2 separate regions of the Homo sapiens genome follow, and region 1 is linked to region 2. Evidence: promoter capture Hi-C in 16 types of primary human blood cells and fetal thymus (Javierre and others, 2016). All regions are on one chromosome and are shown on one strand. Each heading gives the region's core, a stretch centred on a gene start or on the middle of the fragment in contact. The rest is flanking DNA. Distances are from core to core; before and after follow the strand shown.

Region 1 (4,720 bases), core at 542-3,041, 170 kb after region 2:
ACAATGGAACAGCCAATTGAATAGTCATCCGGAAAAAAAAATAGCCTTAATAGTACTTTGTTTATGAAAACTCTACATTTCGGCTGGGCATGGTGGCTCACACCTGTAATCCCAGCACTTTGGGACGCCAGGGTGGATGGATCACCTGAGGCCAGGAGTTTGAGACCAGCCTGGCCAACATGGCAAAACCCTGTCTCTACTAAAAATACAAAAATTTAGCCGAGCGTGGTGGCGAATACCTGTAGTCTCAGCTACTCGGGAGACTGAGGCAGGGGAATCACTTGAGCCCGAGAGGTGGAGGTTGCAATGAGCTGAGATCGTGCCACTGCACTCCAGCCTCGGTGACAGAGTAAACTGTCAAAAAAAAAAAAAAAAGAAAAAAAAGAAAAAGAAAAGAAAAGAAAAGAAAACTATACATTTTATTATTTTTATCCTGAAAATGCTCTGTGAAAGTGGACAATCCTGTGAGGCAATTATTAGACCTATATTAGAAAAAAGAAATGGTAGTGTACAAAAGGCAGGTTGTGTTCATAGGGTCAAACAGGCACAGTCCAGAATTTTTCCAAACTGATGGAACAAATTTTATTACTTTCAAGGTGCTATGAAAATTGAAGATAAATATATATAAATAAACATTGTCCTACTACAGATGGAGCTTTCCATTGTCCCCTTCTGCTGAAATCAGATGCTTTCATCTGAATTTGAAGAGTGAATCTTATGTTGTTGGTAAAAGGAATAAAATTATTCAGTTCAGCGTCTAAACTCTGACATTGCAATGGATCTTCTAATTCTATGATCATTTGTAATCATGCACACTCTGCTTCAATGTAAAATTAGTCCATTCAGTCAACAAATATTTATAGACTTCCTACTATTTGCCAGGCACCATGTTAGATGCTTGGTGATTCAACAGAGAACAAAGCAAAGACCCTGCCCTTGTGGAGCTTTCAACTGAATGAGACAGAAAGATATTAATCAGATAAGCACTAATATCTATCTACAAATGATAATCCCTGATATATAAGAAACATGCCATGTGCCATGAGAACATATGGGGGAAAGCCACCCTCATCTGGATTTGGAGAGGGCTTTCCAAAGGAAGCAACATTTAAGTTGAAATGTGAAGTGATCAGTTGTTGACTAGGTGAAGATGGGAATACAGAGAGGGGAAAGAGAGTACATGTGTTCCAGAGAGTGAGACTAGCATGTACAAGAGTTGGGTAAGTTTGCCTTTGCTGCTTGGTGTTACCGCTTTAGGAACCATGTCTTTTGGAGTGCTGCATTGACTTTTGCTGCCAAATAGCTAAATATACTTGGGTTTATGATTATTTATAAAGCTATATTTCCAGCAGTTCATGTGTCATAAAGCATGGAAATTTGTTTTTTATTACCTAGTTACTGGCAAAATCAAAATGAAGCTTATGGCATACTAGATACTTTGTGCCAACATTTCAAACTGTTCCAAATTAATTTGGTTATTCCAACATTAGAAACAGAACACTATGAAACAAAGAAACCAAGCACAGAAAGCTAAATATCCAGATAAACTTTAAATACTGCTAACAGATGCTCTTTGTGTGAACCAATTTCTTTTGAAAATGGCAATGAGGGCTTTCAACAGTTTTCCATTGTCATATCTGAATTGTGCATTCTTTTAGGGACAAAGGAGGAAAGGTTAACCAAATTCATCATTTATTAGCCTACTTTCCAGGTGTGCTAACTGGGTTCTGGTACACTGTACAGTTCTGACTTTTGATCACCTACCTAGTAAATATTGGAAAATACATGGCATGATTATTCTGCTACCTTCAACAGTTGTAAATCAAGATGGCCAGCCTCTCATAGAAGGAAAACTTAAAGAGAAGCAAGTCAGATGGAAGTTCATCAAAAGGTGGAAAACACGCTATTTTACACTGGCTGGAAATCAACTTCTGTTTCAAAAAGGAAAGTCTGTAAGTTCCTCCATCATCTTTTACACTTGCATTTTTAAGGTTTTGATCTCCACCAATAGCTAAACGTTTTGTCTTGGGTTTAAACTCTAATAATTTTTCCATCTCCATTTCACCATCTTACAGCATTGTTTTATCACACATTTCTGTGTCTAGTCTGTTTATTCCTATGTTAGTTGATTCACTGTCCCCTTCCAGTTTATTATGGAAGCTTGTTTTAGTTGACTTTTTAGTTGAACTGCAGAGGGACTGCAAGTCTTGACTCAGACACCGTGCCCTTTGTTTCCTTGTGGACCACGTACACAAATTTATGACTTATGATATTGGCTCTGATTTTTTTATAGCTATAGTTTATATTTGGAAATGGGGGTCCAAAAAAGGAGGACATAGACAAGGAGGAAAGAATGAAGGCTGATTTACTTTAGGTACTTTTTATAGTCAACAAAGTTTAATTCTGATTAAAATATTACTGTCTTTCATCTATTTAATATTCAGTTAATGAATATAATAGAATTATGATCAAATTAATAAATATTTAATATAATTTTCCATTTGAATAGGATGTTCAGTAATTATTTGTATTGTGAATTTTCAGTGGGAAACCTCTGAAGTAGCATTCCATTGCAATCAATAATGCAAAGTTACCTTCTCTTCTTTTCAAATTGGTTTTATGTATCATTAAACTCTCCTGATTCAGGATCAAGAGGAATCAAATCTTGACCTACTTCTTGGCTATTTTAGAAAATAATCATAATGACTAGCATTTTTTCAGTGCCTACTATGCAACACCTTGGATTGCCTCAAACAATCCTCAAAACAATCCTATTAGGCCACCACTGCTATTATTGCCATTTCACAGATGAGGAAACTGAGTCAAAGAAACTGATTGGATTGTCCAAGGATAAAGCTAATAAGGTGAGAAAGGGTATAACTGGGGTCAAGATCAGGCAGTGTTACACCAAAGCATGTTCTTAAATGAGTTTACTGCTTCCCATGTATACTTAAAATACAGAGTCAGTGGTAAACTGTACTCACCAGGGATCTCCATAGAAATGGAACCAATAGGATATATAAAGACATATACGAGATTTACTATGGGAATTGGCTCATGAAATTATGGAGGGTGTGAAGTTCCATGATATGCTGTGTGCAAGCTGGAGAACCAGGAAAACTGGTGGTGTAATTCAGTCTGTGTCCTAAGGCCAGAAAATTAAGGGAGTCAATGATATAACTCCCAGTCCAAGGCCAAAGGCCTGAGAACCTGGGTATGGCAGTGAGCTGGGGGGAGGGATGTAAGTCCCAGAGTCTGAAGGCCCCAAAACCAGGAGCTCTGATATCCACAGGCAGGAGAGAATGCATGTCTCAGTGCAAGAAGAAAAAGCAAATTTATCTTTCCTCCAACTTGTTATTCTATCCAGGTCCCCAATAGATTGCATGATGCCCACCCACAATGGGGAGCATGGATCTTCTTCACTCAGTCCACTAATTCAAATGCCAGCCTCTTCCAGAAACACCTCACAGACACATGCGGAAATAATGCTTTCCCAGCTGTCTGGGTACCCATTAGCCCAGTCAAGTTGACACATAAATTAACCATCACATAAACCAAACTGTCTGAATTAATTAATGAAAAGTGGTAAATTAGTTAAAAATTATAATTCATTCTCGGCCATATGCACTATATCTTTAGAGTACTCATTATAAAATGTATTTGAACATTTTAATCAGTATGAATCAAGTATCGTGTATTCTGACCAGTGCTCTTTTAATTAATAAGACTTCTGTTAACTTTTTGAATGAAAAAGAATATTTTTTGTGATACCTACTGTGTAGTCATGCTACTTTCTTCATCTGTGTGTGTTATAACATATACAGATGGACTTTTCTGTAGCTGAACATCTTTTTGAAAGGGCAGTTCAATTTAGACAGCTATTGGAAACTTAAAGAAATTTTTTTAGCATAGGTTCACACTAAAGCATGTTTAAAGTGTTTAAAATGACTACCTGAATTTTCTGTTTTTATTCAAGAAATCAAGAATAGAAATGAAGACGTAGTAATTTTCCAGATCCCTTAAGACAAAGCAGAGTTAATCTATGAGAATGTTTTTCTGAACTCAAATAATGACCTTTATACTTTCTGATTCATGGCTTTTTTAATAAGGTTTAAAGAAAAAGCAATTTTATAATTAGGTAACTTGTTTGACATGTTTATCAGGAAATAATGGTCTGACATTCCATAACTCTGACAAAACTTGCGGCTCAAATAGTGGGAAATAATTTAATATAGCATGAAGGCCACAGCAAAATACCTCTAATCTCCAGGGAAACAATAACCTACCAGTGGTCAACAATCCTGCTGAAGCTTCAGGTCCTTGTAAAAGGGCCCCTTTTAAATGAAAGAAATGTGCATTTTAAAATTAGAGCTGAGGTTGAAAGACTCTAGTGGAAGACTCTAATCTTTCACTTTTGCATTTTTAAGACCTTGATCTCCACAAACTAGCTAGGCAATAGTGTCCTTTGACTTTCTATCTATTCCTGTCTCAGTTGATTCACTGTCCATCTTTAAATTACTATGGTAACTTTTTATTTTCGTATCAATCTCTGTACTATAGACTACTTCAAAGAAATGCAATTTTATTACTGTCAGATACTTACTGTAAACCAAATTAGGCTAACAAAGTATTGTCTAGTGTGTATGTCTTCAAACTTTATCCTGTGTACCCTAAAAGAATTTTGAAAAATCTATGTAATACCTTGCAGCATTTTAAGTTG
Region 2 (4,424 bases), core at 9-2,508:
GCCTGAGCTCTGTGACCGCGCATGCAGAAATAGGGGTGTGTGTGTGTGTGTGTGTGTGTGTGTGTGTGTGCGCGCGCGCGCGCGCGCTTCCCATGAAAGCTTCCCCTAGAAGGTTGCCTGGCTTGGCTTGCCGTTACGCGCGCTCCCGGAACAAAGCCGCAGTGGGAGGTCCCGGCCCCGCTTGCCTCCTTACCTGCCGGCAGCCAGCTCCGGGCAGCCCAGCCCTGCACCGCGTGCAGGTCGGCTCGCGTCTGCCGCAGCTCCTCTAGCACCGCGGCCAGGGCGCGCCCCGCCTCCTCTGGGCGCTGCGCCTCCGCGCCCTCCATACGCGCCAGCCTGCGGCCCGCGTCGCGGGTCGCCTGCAGCAGCTCGTCCAGAGCACTGGTCAGCCTGGCCTCTGCGGGAGCCCCCGGCGCGCACGGCCTCGCCAGGCTTTCCGCGAGCCGGCCCAGCTCCTCCCGCAGCCTCTGCAGCTCGCCCCGCAGGACGTCGTCCGTGGCTTGCAGCAGCATGCGCTCTCTCATCTGCGAGTTCTCCAGCATGATGAAGAGCTTGTCCCATTCCGAGTGCTCCTGACCGCAGGCGCACGGCGTGGCTAGAGTACGGGATACACACACGTTAGCAGCCCGCCCAGGCCTGCCTTGGATGTGCTTTGTAAAAGCTGACCTCCCTCGGTGGTGCCAAGTTGCAGCCCGTTCCTGGCATTCCCCTTCCCTTTAAGGACACCTCCGAAAAACAGCATGTAAATGTCTCAGAAACGACAGAAATCATTCATTCAGGTATAGATTAAGTTGTACCCTATGAAATCGCCGGTTATGTAGCTCAAAACAGTCAAATATTGACGATTTGATATGATTCAACCCATTATGTACGTTACAGAAATAACTTTGAAACCTCCATCTTTCTTCAAGTGCTTCTCACTTTTGCATAACAAGCTATAAATTTTTAACTTGTCTCACTGGCCACAAAGTATATGTGTGTTATTTAGACCAAGAGGTGGATATGTAGTCAGGGTTAGCAGAGAAACAGTTAAAGTGAACTTACGGTCCTCAGTGGGATGGAGTCCATTGTCTATTTCGTTGTCCAAATTCACATACATGAGATCATAATCATCCGAGTTCTCGGCCAACACTGCAGACCAGAGAGCACAAAACAGAATCGCAAGGAGATGCATTGCTGGAGAGACGCAAAGTTCTTTCCACAGCTGGCGGGAGGAGACTCTCAAGTGAGCTGAGTTTGAGCGGAGGAGAGTGAGAGTGAGAGGCTGGAGCAGAGAGTCCTTAATAAATGCTGAGGAAAGCCTGAATGGGGATGAATGAGTAATGCTGGTGGCACTGCGGTAACGGGAGTTCCCCTGAATTTGGTGGGGGAGGGGGCTGGGTGGGAGAGCGAGGGAAATGTGGAAGTTGCACAATATTAAACCGCAAAGGTTTACGCTGCAGTCAGATTAATTGGAGGAGGGTCAGAGGGGAAAGAGGAGAGAAACTGGGCTTCTACTGTTCTCCTGAGAATTAGCTGTTGTAATTTGAATTGATAGCAATGGGGATGAAGGAGGGGTGGTAGGGGAGAAATTTCAGAGGGTACTGAAGCAAATCATCATTTCAGCATTTTCTGTGAGCTGTTATTATTTCACAACCCTTTATATATAGAAAACTTTCCATGTTTCCTTTGTACACTGTTTTACAGGTTGAAACTGAAAATGGTCTGATTCCAAGATAAACCAACATATTAAGAATAGTTATGGCTCTGAAAGTCAAGTCCAATCCGAGCTATCTTGTCTTTAATACTTGAGGAGTTGCACCTATACTTTTATAGATAATTTTTTTTTTTGAGACTGAATTTCGCTCTTGTTGCCCAGGCTGGAGTGCAATGGTGTGATCTCGGCTCACTGCAACCTCCGCATCCTGGGTTCAAGCGATTCTCCTACCTCAGCTTCCCAAGTAGCTGGAATTACAGGCACCCGCCACCACACCCAGTTAATTTTTGTATTTTTAGTAGAGACAGGGTTTCACCATGTTAGCCAGGCTGGTCTCGAACTCCTGACCTCAGGCGATCCACCCGCCTTCGCCTCCCAAATTGCTAGGATTACAGACGTGAGCCACCTCACCCGGCCTATGACAAACAACACAGTACAACTGGGTAAACCTAGAATGGGGAAAAAAAGCTGGGGGAAAAAAGGAATATACTTATTTAGTTATTTAGGTATGTTTCTTTTCATAACTTGGTATTATGTGGACATTATATTATTCTACAAGGTTTCGAGGCAAGGATCATGTTTTAAAAGTAAACTTAGAGATTTCTGCTTCTAACAATATATACAGGTCTGTGTTCACATGATATTAATAAAAACTTAAAAGGTACAGATGAGCTCCCATTAAAGTAAGGGGAAAATCCCGGAGCCAAAGATAGAGAGGAAAGCAAAAACAACAATCCCATGAGCTGATGCTAGGGCCCCTCTGGCATAGGAGTGAAGTGAGATAGGGGTTATTAGTTCTATAACCACCAAATGTTGATGACCATGTGGAAGCAAAGCTTAGGCCAAAGGTGGAGAGTTAGAAGGGAGATCCTCATGAAAGCCAGGACCCTCACAGGGTTACCTACTGTATTTCAGTAGGTACAATCCCACTCTGCCCTAGCACAAAGAGGTAGGAAGCAATCATGTCTCTCTTTGAACTCTACAAGGTCCCTTTGAGTTTGTGAAATTGGGCCTGCCCTCAGATATGTTTAGAATTCAAATATATACTATCTGCCACTGTGAAAACAAAAAAGAATTCACAATGATATTTGAACATATGAGGAAGCAAACCACTATAAATGAGAATCAGCAGAAACCAAAAAGGATTAGACACCTCTCCCCAAGAACTGCATTTAGTTGAAATATCAGCCAAAAAACTAGAAAATAAATATGTTTAAAACTACTGAAGCTCTAAAAGAAGGAATTGGAAATATGAGAAAAGAATAAGACATTGTCAAAAAGAAAAAGGCTAGGTGATTTTTTTTAAAGAACCAAATAAAACTTCTAGAATTAAAAAAAAAAGTTAATTGAAAATTTTAAAAGCTCAAGGCATGGATTAAGTGGCAAATTAGGCAAAGCTGAAAAGAATATTAATGAACTGGAAGACAGATATAAGGAAATAATCTAAAATGTGCTGCTTTTATGTTCAGTAATAGGATTCTAAAATCATTTCATTGTTCAGGAGGACGAAAAAGAAATTAATTAATTTTGCTTTGCTCAAAAATATTTGTTATAAGTTTAAGGACAACTACCAAATGGACATAGGCATCCGAATAGAAGGTGCAGGGGGAATTTTTAAAGAAAGACTTGATCTATGAAAAAAAAATTAATGAAGGAGGAAAGAAAAGCACAGAGAAGGATAAGTTAAAAGTACAATATTATTTGCTAAAATTAAATCAAAATATACCAATAATTACCATAAATATTAATGAAACACATTTTCCAGTTAAGAGACAAATATTTCTATTTGTCATATAGAAATATTTTAGTCGGGGCTCACGTTCAGAATCCCAGTACTTTGGGAGGCCAAAGTAGGAGGATCACTTGAAGCCAGGAGTTTGAGACCAGCCTGATCAACATAGCAAGACCCTCATCTGCACAAAAAATTTAAAAATTAATCTGGTGTGGTGATATGCACCTGTAGTCTCAGCTACTCAGGAGGCTGAGGCAGGAGGATCACTTGAGCCTGGGAAGTGGAGGCTGCAGTGAGCTGTGATCACACCACTGCGTTCCAGCCTGGGCGACAGAAAGAGACCCTGAAAAAAAGAAAAGGAGAGAGAGAGAGAAGAAATATTTTAAAAATCCAGCTATACATCACTTACAAAAGCTATGCATAAAACATAAAGTAGAAATGTTAAAAGTTAAAAGCTTTAAATTGGAGGGGAGGAAGAGAACACACCAAGCAAGTATTATTCAAAAAAGCTAGCATAGCAGTAGTAATATCAGTAAAAAATAGACTTAGGCAAAAGAGGATAGTTAAATTATGATACAAAGAAATACTTTAACAGGAAGATATCTCTGAATTATCTAGTAATATAGTTTCAAAAAATATAAACCAAAGGTTGACAGAATTATAAGGAGAAATGGGCAAATCCATAATCATGGAGGGAGATTTTAACAAAGCTGATAAGTTCACATATATCATAACTGATCATTCAAATGCGAAAAAAAAGCCTGCCAAAGGATACAGAAACTTAAACTACATAACTTAAAGCTTGATATAATGAAGTATATAGAGTACTGCCCAGATGGTTTGATGGACAAGTTCTACCAAACATTCAAGGAACACATAATCCCCGTTTTGTACAAACTGCTTCTGAGAATAGAGTGTTCAGGAATGTGCTAAATTCATTTTACATGTCTACTAAGTATGATACCAAAAAGAGAAAAGGACAATACAAGAAAGGAA

The links. Contacts are between HindIII fragments. The CHiCAGO score rates a contact against its expected background, and 5 or more counts as called.
Region 1: a contact is called between a fragment that was not itself captured here and the fragment with the promoter of PTX3 in region 2, in 1 of 17 cell types (endothelial precursors). The highest score is 5.8, in endothelial precursors.

Annotation. Positions count from the first base shown.
Region 1 is chr3:157,262,758-157,267,477 of GRCh38, reverse strand. It overlaps VEPH1 (ventricular zone expressed PH domain containing 1), which reads left to right. Exons shown (of 14, transcript NM_001167912.2): 13 at 1,816-1,952. All of the region lies in intron 3 of LOC101928236 (a long non-coding RNA gene), which reads right to left. Among named protein-coding and RNA genes, the nearest start is that of CCNL1, 100 kb to the right of the region's middle. The HindIII fragment of the contact is 742 bases long and covers 1,421-2,162 here.
Region 2 is chr3:157,433,684-157,438,107 of GRCh38, reverse strand. PTX3 (pentraxin 3) reads right to left here and starts at 1,258. Exons shown (of 3, transcript NM_002852.4): 1 at 1,045-1,258; 2 at 194-595. The coding sequence starts at 1,174. All of the region lies in intron 4 of VEPH1 (ventricular zone expressed PH domain containing 1), which reads left to right. The HindIII fragment of the contact is 2,433 bases long and covers 102-2,534 here.